Linked DNA regions of Homo sapiens: region 2 is linked to region 1. The links are contacts of gene promoters, found by promoter capture Hi-C in blood cells and fetal thymus (Javierre and others, 2016). All regions are on one chromosome and are shown on one strand. The core of a region is centred on a gene start or on the middle of the fragment in contact, and the rest is flanking DNA. Distances in the headings are between cores, read along the strand shown.

Region 1 (6,147 bases), core at 2,401-4,900:
GACTCCTCTCTCATCCCATGTTTCAAGCTCTTACCTCCCCAAAGCCAAATCCTTCCCCAGGTGAAAGGAAGGCAGCCCAGGAAAGGGTATTCCTTAAGGTTACAGCATTAGCAACCTGATAGGCTCTGGTCCCCAACCAACTTTTTTCCCCTCTGGAGCTATGTTCTGCCCTATTTTTAATTCCATGTAAAAGGTCATCAAGGAAAAAAAAAGTGACAGAGACACTTCAAGCTACTCTGGACAGGAGAGTTTACAGTCTTATCAGAAATTTCTAAAGCATGAGAGATTTTTTGAAAAGGAAAACAAGGCTCAGAGACGTAAAGCAAGTTTCTCGAGGACCTGCGACTTTAGCAGGTATCTTTCTCTGAAGAGGAAATAGCCTTCCCTAAACTCAAGCAAAATTCTGTGCCCTCAGGTCAAATAACCAGGTCTTTTCCTAGTCAGAGTGAAGAGGAACTCAAAATGACCAAGTTACAAATCTGGAACATGGTCAGGCGTGATGGTTCATGCCTGTAATCCCAGCAGTTTGGGAGGCCAAGGTGGGAAGATCACTTGAGGACAGAAGTTCAAGACCAGCCTGGGCAACATAGTGAGACCCCTGTGTCTACAATAAAAAAAAAATTAAAAATTTTCAATAAATAAATAAAAACCCTGGAATGTGCCTCATACCAAAACCCCAAGGTGAACGCTTCTAAACCACTTTCTGTAGTGGTGCTCCCATCTGTGGAAGCACACAGGCTGAAAAAGCCTTTCCCAGGCTGTAAGCACTAGCTATCCTCAAGGCAGAAATGAAATTCAATAAATATTCTGAACTGCTTTTGAAAGCATAAACCACTAGGTGCCCTGGGCCACTCACAATTACAAGAATGTTGAACTACAAAGAAACTACACAGAAACAGCAAGTTCAAAAGAAGGCCAAACCCTTATCTGGACTAACTTGGTAACAAATACCTGAATTCATTCAACATAAAATCAACTTTTCTCAGCATGCTGGAAACAATATCACAGGCAGGCGGGAAAAGAAATAAGGCATACAGTTCCTACTGCAATCAGTGTAAATAGCTGCACGAGGCAAGGGTCTTCAAATACCTGGCACACCCTTATCCAAACAGGCCCAGAAGAAAGGCAGTGTGAACAGCTGGACTTCCCTTGGTAGGACTGACTCCTTAGTAGAGAGCTGCCTCCTGAGAGTGCAAGCTTATGCGCATCTCAGCCCGACCTAAAGCCAGCAAAATGCCTTTCTCAGGAACCTGGTAAGCGCAATGTTGCAACAAGCTGGTCCAAACTGCAGCTGACAAGCGCCACCTCCCACTCCCCATCCATGCCTTAATACTGCTCCAATTCTTACCCAGATTGGTAGAATGGAGAGGGGAACCTTAGCAGGGAACCTTCATTTATACAATGCCCCAAGGGCCAGTGTCCGAAATAGGACTCCAGTACACACAAGCTTTGGTAGGTCTCATGTAATTTTACCTGCTACAATAAACTCCTTCCAAGGAACTGCAACCATGAGCCAATAACCCAAGGACACAGATCTTGGCTGACTGCTGACCAAGCCAAAGAAACACACACACACACACACACACACACACACCACCTGCATCAGCAAATTAAAACCAGAATTTCTGAATAAGGGCAGTATCTGGGAACTAAACCTGTGTGGTCTTACTCGGCTTTATTCTCTGCACAACAGACTGAATAGGACGATGTAACCAATGTAAGGCCTGGTATCTGCTAAGTGAAAGAAACCATCCGCTCAGCACCCTCACCACCGCTATCTCAAGAGGCAAAGTCCACAAACTGTCTAGTTTCCTCAAGGGCTCTTTCCTCCCTGCCCACACTCGTGAAGAAAGAGGAAGGGTCCAGGATAGAGATAGTAATGACCTCCTGCTATAAAGTCTGGCTTTGGCTGCTGTTACCGCTGCTAAAGACTGGAGCCCTGAGTCAGCTGAACCCAGGCTACTGTGATCTACATGCCAGGGCTCAACAAACTCCAAGACAAACATAGAACTTCACAAAACAGCCCTGTGTCCCAAGACCCTCACATGTGTGAAAGGCAATAAACTCCTTAATATAACAAACTCCAGGACACTGCAATCGACTTGGGAAGAACTAACTATTTTAGTAAAAGCAAGAGCCAAATCTGGGCATCGCAGAAAAAGAATGAGAGAAAGTGAAGAGTGAGTCTGTCTCCTGGTTGTCTGGAGGTGGCATACTGCCAATTTGGTAGCCTCTGAACCCAGCATACAGTATCAATCTCCTAGCAAAGAACTTCCTTCTGAAACCTGTTTTCCAATCCCTCCAACAGAAGAAACAAAGATTATAAAGCTGATCTTCCAAAACGGTGGTCTCGGGGCAACCTACATCACAAGCCCCTGGTGCAGAAACCTGGATCCCAGCAAAAAAGCTCAATCTACTATAATCAATTTCGAGTGGGGACTAGGAATCTGCATTTTTAACCAGCTGCCCTGGCAATTCTGACACACACTAACTTTGGGAAGGGAGCAGCTCCGTTAAAAACCACTGTTGCCCAGCAAGTTAAGTCACAATCATTTTCCCCCTAAGCTGGAATTAGAACTCTCAGGATCACCTAGGGGAGGTTGTAAGCATTCTCTGATAGACCATTCGGATTCTTACACTGGTTGACCCAGTTCACACACAGCCACCAGCCTCACGTGCAGGATGGCTTCGATAGAACCACCCTCTGGGGGCGGCCTGCCGATTCTACTTTTAAGCACACATATTCTTCGCTCGAAAAGAGGGCGGGGGAGGAGGCTACAATCAAACTTTCCTGGCCCATTCTCTTCGAAGATTCCTTCCTATTCTGGCTAAGAATCAAGCCCCGCTCCTGCAGAAGGGGCAAGGAAAGCGGCCGATTCCTGGGTCGACGAGAATCTCCCAAGAACTGTCTCGACAGGAGAAGCAGGGGCACCCATGACCTACAACCCGCGAGGCCTGGAGGTAGCAAAAGGCCGCCTTCGTCATTTCTCTCCCAGCTTGGATGGGAGTGAGGGGTTGAGAAAATGCAGGATGAGAAATCCAAATATAACTAACTTCTGGCCAACTCTCTGCCTGTATGACTCTAGGTACCTTGGAGCCAGTGCCAGGCCCTGAGCTCAGAGCGGGCCCCCGAAGAAGCTGCAGAGAGAAACTTCGCTCCAGAGACGCGGCCCCAGGGTCGAAAGGGGCTCGGGGCCCGCAGCCCCCGGCCGGCTGCGCCCAGCACAGCAGGCCCTGGATCCCGCGGCTCGGCAGGGGGACTCTCACCTCGGCCCACCCGGCCTTCCAAAGGGTCCTTGCGGAAGTGGATCCCGTGCACGTCCACATGCGCCTCTCCACCCGCGTTGACCGCCCAAATGACGCTCTCGGGCAGCCCGGCCCCCGCCGCGCCGGCCACGCCGGCCACGCCGAGCCCGGGTCCCCGGATCGCCGGCGGCAGCAGCAGCAGCAGCAGTCGCAGGAGCGCCACAGCGGTTCCCTCAACCGCCCAGGCTCCCAGCATGGCGGCCACCACCACGGGGGCAGCCCCCGCCGACCCTCGTCCTCGGCCGGCTGCCAGGCCACCCCGGACTCAGAAAAACAGCGCCACGGGCCGCTCCGCCTGAGCCGCCGGGGACATGTCGCTCTCAGGCCTCCTTCTTCTCAGCCACGGGTACCGCCTCCCACCTCAGGAACAACCTACCCCGCCGCCCTGCCCCCGGCCACGACGCTGCAGCCAATCAGCGCCCGGCCCTCATTAATTACCCACCACCCCGCCGGGAGGCGCCCGCTCATTGGCTGTCAGGCGCGGGAAAGGGCGTGGCTTCTCCCAGGCGCCGGCCCAGCAGTCGGGCACCAGATGGAGCGCGCGCAGAGGGAGTGAGTTCGGTTGAAGCGGCGGTTCGATGCGGAAGTGGCGGGTGCAGCGCCCAGGCGGCCCCGGAATCCCACAGCTGAATGGGAAAGGTGGCCTGGGGGGGGAAGGTTTAGGGTAGGGCGCACTGACATGTCGCCAGCACTTCCGGTGCTCTAGCTCCTGAGACCAAATAGGCTCTGGAGGGGGCGTGGCCGACTTTCCCGCCCCCTCTTCTTTTCTCAGGGAGCAGCATGAGCATAAATTCTAGTAGGAGAAGCAATGGACACTCTCCAGACCTAAGAGACGCAGTCCTTTTCCCCGCGTGAGGGAGAGGACCCATGCTTTCCCAGAGAGGCCGCGGACACAGGTCTCCAGGGAACGAATCCCATGAGAATAAGGCCCCGCCCCCTCCCCTTAGCGGGCTCGGGGCGGGTGGTAGCGTCCAGACGGCCGTCCAATGAGAAGGCTCCAACGCAGCGGAAACGCGTGGCTTTGAGAGCGAGTGGGTGCCAGGCTGCTCGCGTCTCCATGGCGACGGCCTCTGGCCGGCCTCCGCTGCGTAGGGGCGGGACCGAGGCACCCTAGGCGCTGGCGGGAGTCGCCGCCGGCGGTGCCCAGAGTGGATACCGGGGTTGTCCCGCACGGGCACGGCCCGAACTCCCTCCCTGCTCCTTCACAGTTCACCTGGCGCTCTCCCACACTGGCGATCCCTGCGCTTCGGTCGCTGTTCAAACTCCCATTTTTCCGATGGGGAAACTGAGGCATAGAAAGGGACTGAATTTTGCCAAAGGGTCGCACCGCAAGTGTAGGGCAGAGTCAAGGCAAAAACAAAAAAAACAAAAAAACGCTTATGCATTTTCCATAAATACTGGTCGATTTAGAAATTCTCCCTAAAAGGAAAAAAATGTATCAAGTCCCTGCTACCAGGGTTGTCAGATTTGGCAGATAAAATAGGAGAAGCCCAGTTATATTTGAATTTCAGATAAGCAAATGGGACCCACTTATACTAAAAAAAAAAATGCATTGTTTATTAAAATTTAAACAACTGGACTTCTTGTATTTTATCTACCAATCCTACCTACTACTTAGGCAATGAGCTTTGTGCTACATGAACAAAAAACACACCTGGGGTCCCGCATGAGAATCATAGACTTTGCACAACCCATAATGAAATTAATTGTTTAGTTAGAACAGTGGTAAGTGCTATACGGGAACAAAACAGGGTGCCAAAATAGAGACTATCAGTGGTGGATCTAAATGCACCCAAATTCCTTCCCAGGCCCCAAATTCAGACCCCATGGGGGTAACTTTTGGAAGTGTTCCCTCCCGGTCTCACTTTCCCCCCTATTTTGCAAGCATCTGGCCTTACTTCCTCCCATAGACATGTTTCCTGTCCAAGGTGTTTCTTTTTTTTTTTTTTTCTGTCTTTTTTGGAGACAGAGTCTTGCTCTGTCGCCAGGCTGGAGTGCAGTGGTGCAATCTCGGCTCATGGCAACCTCCACCTCCCGGGTTTAGGCGATTCTGCTGCCTCAGCCTCCTGAGTAGCTGGGACTACAGGCGCGCGCCACCACACCCAACTAGTTTTTTTTATTTTTATTAGAGACCGAGTTTCACCATGTTGGCCAGGATGATCTCGATCTCCTGACCTCGGGGTCCGCGGCCTCCCAAAGTGCTGGGATTACAGGTGTGAGCCACCACACCTGGCCTCTTGGGGTTTCTAATTCTACTATTCTCTCTCTCAAACTGTCATCTTTTAAGGATCTTGACAACTCAGAGGCTTCAGTTACCCTCAAAGGAGGGGTGTGGTGCAAATGGGGAACAGAAACACAAGTAGTGGTGATGGGGCTTCCTCCCTCCAGGCAGTTGGCCTGCAGAGCCCACGTACCACTCAGGTATTGCACTGCCACCAGGCGCTCATGTTTATTTTATCCTCAAGGCAGTCTAGTCCAGGAGAAACAATCACAAAAACGGATTAAATTTTGGGGGAGGCCTCTAAAGGCTTTCTCTCAGTCCTTCGTGTCTTTGGTCACCCCAGAGGGTGAAGAAGATACCCGGCTGGCTCCTGTTATTGAGCCCTTCAGATACCATTCGTGGTTGGGCCATCTGTGTACCAAGGAGCTTGGCTCCCTTTCTGAGATCCAGCTGCTCATGAATTAGGCTGTCTTTTCAGTAAAACGTAAAGTCTGAGACCCTGGAGGCAGGGTATGGGATCCGAGCGTGGGATCTAAGACAGGCTGCCTGCATCCCATGCCTAGTCCCATTTACCCACTGTGTGGCCTTGGGCAAGTGATGTACTTCGCTGAGTTTCAGTT
Region 2 (6,147 bases), core at 1,798-4,297, 270 kb before region 1:
TGAGCAGGGAGGGAGCAGTGTCCTCTTAGCATAATAAGATCAGGATTCATAACATTAAATCAAAGTGCTGTAACTCACAGGAATATCAGTTTCCTATTCAGAAGATAGAGGAGAATGTTTTCAGAAGGAAATTGAACTTTATGGTTTGAAACACGTTTAATTTTAAATATGTTGAGAGAAAACCAGCTACAGCCTGGCATGGAAACTCCTGTTGTTCCAGCCAATGCCTTGGAGAACCAGAGACCACGCCCCCTTCCTCCCTGCTGAGGAGTCAACGAACGAGACCAAAGTCCCCTGTTCTTCTCTGCAGTCAGCAGAAATCAGAGAAGAACATCTTTAGACAGTCAGCAGACTCAGGAACTGTGTACTCTAGGACTTTTTAAAAATTTTTTTACTTTTATTTTTTTGAGACGGAGTCTCGCTCTGTCGCCCTGGCTGGAGTGCAGTGGCGTGATCTCAGCTCACTGCAACGTCCACCTCCCAGGTTCAAGCTATTCTCCTGCCTCAGCCTCCCGAGTAGTTAGGATTACAGGCGCCTGCCACCACACCCGGCTAATTTTTGTATTTTTAATAAAGACAAGGTTTTGCCATGTTGGCTAAGCTGTTCTCCAACTCCTGACCTCAGGTGATCCACCTGTCCCAGCCTCCCAAAGTGCTGGGATTACAGGCATGAGCCACCGCACCCAGCCTGGGACTTTTTTATTTTTACAGAGATGGGTGATGATTCATGGGACGTTGGAGATGCCCCAAGACTGGAGATATGATTTGGGGGATCCTGAGGATTGGTGACCTAGGCAAAACTTGGGGAGGCTGGATCCTGGGTATGGAGTAGCCAATCTGAATAAAGACCCCTGCGCCAAAGGTTGGCACAGAAATAGTGGTCTTGCCAGCCTTCAGGGGAGGCCCACACCAGTCCTAGACTGCCTGCTTCTGGAAGGAATCAACTCTTACATGTTTATGCCATTTCACTTTGGGTTTTCTGTTCTATACAGCTAAACCTAATACTGGACTGATACATTATTATTATTTTCAGAACCAACCAAAGCTGGAATAACACTCTTGATAATGCCAGTTTCCTGGTCCTAGAAGTGAGCTAACAGGCTTTTCAGAGATGACGAGATGTGAAATCCCTCACTGATTCATGCTTCATGTGTTTAATGAGCACCCACTAGGTGCTAAGCCTTGTTCTAGTCAGGAATAAAACCGATACTTCACGAGGTTTACAGCCTGGTGGAGGAGACGTGTATCAGGCTAGTGCGTGTAGACCAAAGGCCAGAGGCGCCCACTCAAGCATTTCCACCTACATGAGAATCCCATAGTCTTTTTAGAAGAATAGAAATAGTAAGCCCTGAGTCACGACTGCATTTGAATGCCACCTTACCTGAAGTCTGAATCAGGGATAATTTGATTTCAGAAGAATAAAATGAGGCTCCTAACACCTGTCCCAAATTGCAAGGAAATGAGGGTATTCTCTTTTTTTTTTTTTTTTCTGAGATGGAGTCTCGCTCTATCGCCCAGGCTGGAGTGCAGTGGCGCGATCTCGGCTCACTGCAAGCTCCACCTCCCGGGTTCACGCCATTCTCCTGCCTCAGCCTCCTGAGTAGCTGGGACTACAGGCGCCCGCCACCACGCCCAGCTAATTTTTTGCATTTTTAGTAGAGACGGGGTTTCACCGTGTTAGCCAGGATGGTCTCGATCTCCTGACCTCGTGATCCGCCCGCCTCGGCCTCCCAAAGTGCTGGGATTACAGGCGTGAGCCACCGCGCCCAGTTGAAATGAGGGTATTCTCTAAGAGGCAGATGACAGAACCTACTGCAATGAATTTGTCAAGCTCAAGGCTAAGGACACAGTCCCTCCACAAGGCAGCCTTCACTTCAAATGCCAGGTGCAACTGGGGATTCCTGGGCCACCCTCACTTCTGACCGCTTGGCTGCATTGAGGGTTCCCACTACCCCCTGTGGTTCAATAATTCACTAGAATGACTCATGGAACTCAGGAAAGTGCCCCGCCTCATAACGACAGTTTTTATGATAGCAAACAGACACAGATCAGAACCAGCCACAAGAAAGGACATAGAGGGTGAGGTGCGGAAGGGGTTCAAGTGCAAAGCTCCTAGTTACCTTCTCTCCAGACAGTCACCTCCCCCCAGCTATGATGCGTGATGACACTCAGAGAATACTGCTAACCAGAGAAGCTCCTGAGGCTTTGGTGTCCAGCGTTTTTGGGGGTTTTGTTTTTGTTGTTGTTGTTTCTGAGATGGAGTCTCGCTCTCGTCGCCCAGGCTGGAGTGCTGTTGCGTGATCTCAGTTCACTGCAACCTCCACCTCCTGGGTTCAAGCGATTCTCCCGCCTCAGCCTCCAGAGTACGAGTAGCTGGGATTACAGGCATGCACCATGCCCAGCTGATTTTGTATTTTTAGTAGAGACAGGGTTTCACCATGTTGGCCAGGCTGATCTCAAACTCCTGACATCTGGTGACCCGCCCCCCTCAGCCTCCTGAAGTGCTGGGATTACAGGCATGAGCCACTGCCAGCCAGTGTCCAGCGTTTTTTAGTGGGGCTTGATCCCTTACTGCCAGTGTGGCTGACCTTTCATCTCCAGTCTCTCCTGAGCTAACTCTTGTGTATCCAGCTCATCTGGAGGTTGGAACTGATACAGGATGTTCCAAAGCCTTCATTACAGATCACATTGTTAGACTATCTGGTGGCCAAAGGCCCCAGGCAAACACAGACACTTCCATCAGACAGGACGTTAAGGGGCCTAGAGATCACCTCCCAGCAACTGAAGGCAAAGATAATCCTCCTACTGTACATCCTTTTTTTTTCTTTTTTTTTTTTTAAGAGACAGGGTTTCATTCTGTCGCCCAGGCTGGAGTACAGTGACACACTCATGGCTTGCTGCAGCCTCGACCTCCTGGGCTCAAGCAATCCTCCTGTAGCTGGGACTACAGGTGTGCACCACCACACCCCGCCAACTATACATCCACCACCACCCTGTCCTCTCAGCCCCCAAAGTCATGAGGCTTTGACTAGGTATCAGGATGTCTTCAAATGAAAATTAATGAAAACAGCGGGCCCGGTGGCTCACACCTGTAAGCCCAGCACTTTGGGAGGCCGAGACAGGTGGATCACCTGAGATCGGGAGTTCAAGAACAGCCTGATCAACATGGAGAAACCCTGTCTCTGCTAAAAATACAAAAAAAGTAGCTGGGCATGATGGCACATGCCTGTAATCCCAGCTACTTGGGAGGCTGAGGCAGGAGAATTGCTTGAACCCGGGAGGTGGAGGTTGTGGTGAGCCGAGATCATGCCATTGTACTCCAGCCTGGGCAACAAGAGTGAAACTTCGTCAAAAAAAAAAAAAAGAAAAAAAGAAAAGAAAATTAATAAAAACAAAAATCCAAAGTTGGACACACACACAGAGAACACCTTAGGACAATAGAGGTACACCGTGGAGTGCTGCAGCAGCAAGCCAAAGATTGCCAAGGATTACCAGAGACGTGAGACGTTGGAAAGGGCAAGAGTGGAATCTCCCCTCTCCCCCAAGTTTGAGAGGGGGCCAAGCCTTACCGACACCTTAATTTGAGGCCTCTAGTCTCTAGAAATGCAATGTGCAAGGCGGGGCGCGGTGGCTCACGCCTGTAATCCCAGCACTTTGGGAGGCTGAGGCGGGCCTTAAGGTCAGGAGTTCAAGACCAGCCTGGCCAACATGGTGAAACCCTGCCTCAAAATGCAAAAAGTAGCCAGGCGTGGTGGCATGTGCCTGTAATCCTAGCTACTCAGGAGGCTGAGGCAGGAGAATCACTTGAACCCAGGAGGCAGAGGTTGCAGTGAGCCGAGATCACACCAGTGCACTCCAGCCTGGGCAACAGCGTGAGACTCCATCTCAAAAAAAAAAAAAAGGGCCGGGTGCAGTGCTCACGCCTGTAATCCCAGCACGTTGGGAGGCTGAGGTGGGAGGATCACCTGAGGCCAGGAGTTCAAGACCAGCCTGGCCAATATGGTGAAACTCTGTCTCTACTAAAAATTCCAAAAAAATTTAGCAGGGTGTGGTGGCGCATGCCTGTAATCCCAGCTACTCGGGAGACTGAGACAGGAGAATTGCTTGAACCCGGGAGGTGGAGGTTGCAATGAGCTGAGATGGCGCCACTGCACTCCAGCCTGGGAGACAGAGTGAGACTCCGTCTCAAAACAAAACAAAACAAAAATGCGACGTGCAGTGATGTGCTCCAGCTGGTGTGATCCCCTTGGGGATGTGGCAATGGATGGGCATCCCCAGACTTGATGATCATCCCTTTGTCTCTTACCAGCAATCCCCAAACCAATTCACAAGTTCTGTTTTGTTTTGGTTTGGTTTTTTGTTTGTTTTTTGAGACAGAGTCTCACTCTGTCGCCCGGGCAGGAGTGCAGTGACATGATCATATCTCACTGCAGCCTCAAACTCCCAGGCTCAAGTGATCCTCCCACCTCAGCCTCCCTAGTAGCTGGGACTACAGGTGTGCACCACCATGCCTGGCTAACTTTTTTCATTTTTTGTAGAGATGGGGGTCTCCCTATGTTGCCCAGGCTGGTTTCGAACTCCTGGGCTCAAGTGATCCTCCCATCTCAGCCTCCCAAAGTGCTGGCATTACAGGCGTGAGCCACCGTGCCCGGCCACAAGATATTTTTTAAGCATGGAGGTTTCTGTGCATTGGATTCCCCTCTTTGAGCTTCACCATATATATTTGTCCAAGGGCAGGGAGATCCGGTGTAATCTGCTTACACAATATTCCTGGAGAAGTTCTTCTTTCAGTAAATACTTGTACATCTCTGCAGAGTGACAGCAGGTTCTCCAGCAAACACCTTGGGGAGCCCAACCCTTTCCTGGGAATGCCCCTGTGTTAATGGGAATCAAAGCTGAGAGCAGGTGGGGAGAGTACATTCTTGGCTTATCAGCTTCCAACAGAAAGGGGAAATAAAAACAGATGCAATCTTTTATTGCAAAGGGATGGGTGCCTCTAAGATCAGATAAAGCCCATATAGGATTATGCAGAAACTGGTGTAAATTTGCAGGTCATCAAGACTCAATGTCCCCTCCCTCCCCACACTGTCCACCTCTGGACCATTTTGCACTTTATATTTTCTGAGAAAGGAGGCAGAGGGGAAGAAGGGGTTCAAAGGTGTCAGCCTGGCTCCTGGTGACCAGCTCTGTTTAGCAGGAAGTTAGCTGGAACAACTGATTGAGCCCTGGGATAATCTATGCTGTCACTGTGGACACAGCGGAGCAGAGGGCACACACAGTGGAGGGCACACACAGCGGAGGACAGACACAGTGGAGGGCACACACAGTGGAGGGCACACACAGCGGAGGGCACACACAGTGGAGGGCACACACAGCGGAAGGCACACACAGTGGAGTTACCTCTGATCCCCATGCCCTACGGGGCTGCCACCTTCCTGCCAGGGTTTGGATCATCACAGTCATTTGCATCTTCACTCCACAGCGTGAGTGCACATACACATCTGTTTTATTGCATTTGGCCCTTATAGGAATGAGTGGGATATGGGGAAATGAAAAGGCTGAGACTGCGATAAAAAATGTAGCTCTTAGGCCAGGTGCGGTGGCACATGCCTGTAATCCTAGCACTTTGGGAGGCCGAGGTGGACAGATCACCTGAGTTCAGGAGTTTGAGACCAGCCTGGCGAACATGGTGAAACCCCATCTCTACTAAAAATACAAAAATTAGCCAGGCGTGGTGGTGGGTGCCTGTAGTCCCAGCTACTCAGGAGGCTGAGGCAGGAGAATCCCTTGAACTCGGGGGTCAGAGGTTGCAGTGGGATTGCACCGCTGCACTCCAGCCTGGGCGACAGAGTGAGACTCCATCTCAAAACAAAACGAATCGAATCAAATGTAGCTCTTGAAACAACCAAAACAAAGTTAAAGTTGTAAAGAGTGGAAAGTCCTTAGCATTGATCAGAATTAATCTTTGGCCAGGTGCAGTGGCTCACGCCTATAATCCCAGCACTTTGGGAGGCTAAGGTGGGAGGATCATTTGAGCCCAATTTGAGACTAGCCCAGGCAACATAGTGAGATCTCATTTCTACTGGAAATGAAAAAATTAGCCAGGCATGGTGGCATCTGCCTATAATCCTGGCTACTCAGGAGGCT

Evidence for each region. The method cuts DNA at HindIII sites, captures the fragments that hold promoters and counts their contacts. A CHiCAGO score of 5 or more calls a contact.
Region 2: a fragment that was not itself captured here is called in contact with the fragment with the promoter of MLEC in region 1 in 2 of 17 cell types (M2 macrophages and naive B cells); the score reaches 9.0 in M2 macrophages.

Annotation. Positions count from the first base shown.
Region 1 is chr12:120,684,652-120,690,798 of GRCh38, reverse strand. MLEC (malectin) reads right to left here and starts at 3,650. Exons shown (of 5, transcript NM_014730.4): 1 at 3,268-3,650. The coding sequence starts at 3,502. It overlaps LOC105370029 (a long non-coding RNA gene), which reads left to right and starts at 3,650. Exons shown (of 3, transcript XR_945449.3): 1 at 3,650-3,945. RefSeq lists silencers at 3,292-3,591, 4,432-4,531, 5,646-5,735 and enhancers at 3,346-3,847, 3,942-4,071, 4,162-4,271. The HindIII fragment of the contact is 12,504 bases long and covers 1,450-6,147 here.
Region 2 is chr12:120,955,912-120,962,058 of GRCh38, reverse strand. No RefSeq gene overlaps it. Among named protein-coding and RNA genes, the nearest start is that of HNF1A-AS1, 13 kb to the left of the region's middle. The HindIII fragment of the contact is 7,737 bases long and covers 1-6,147 here.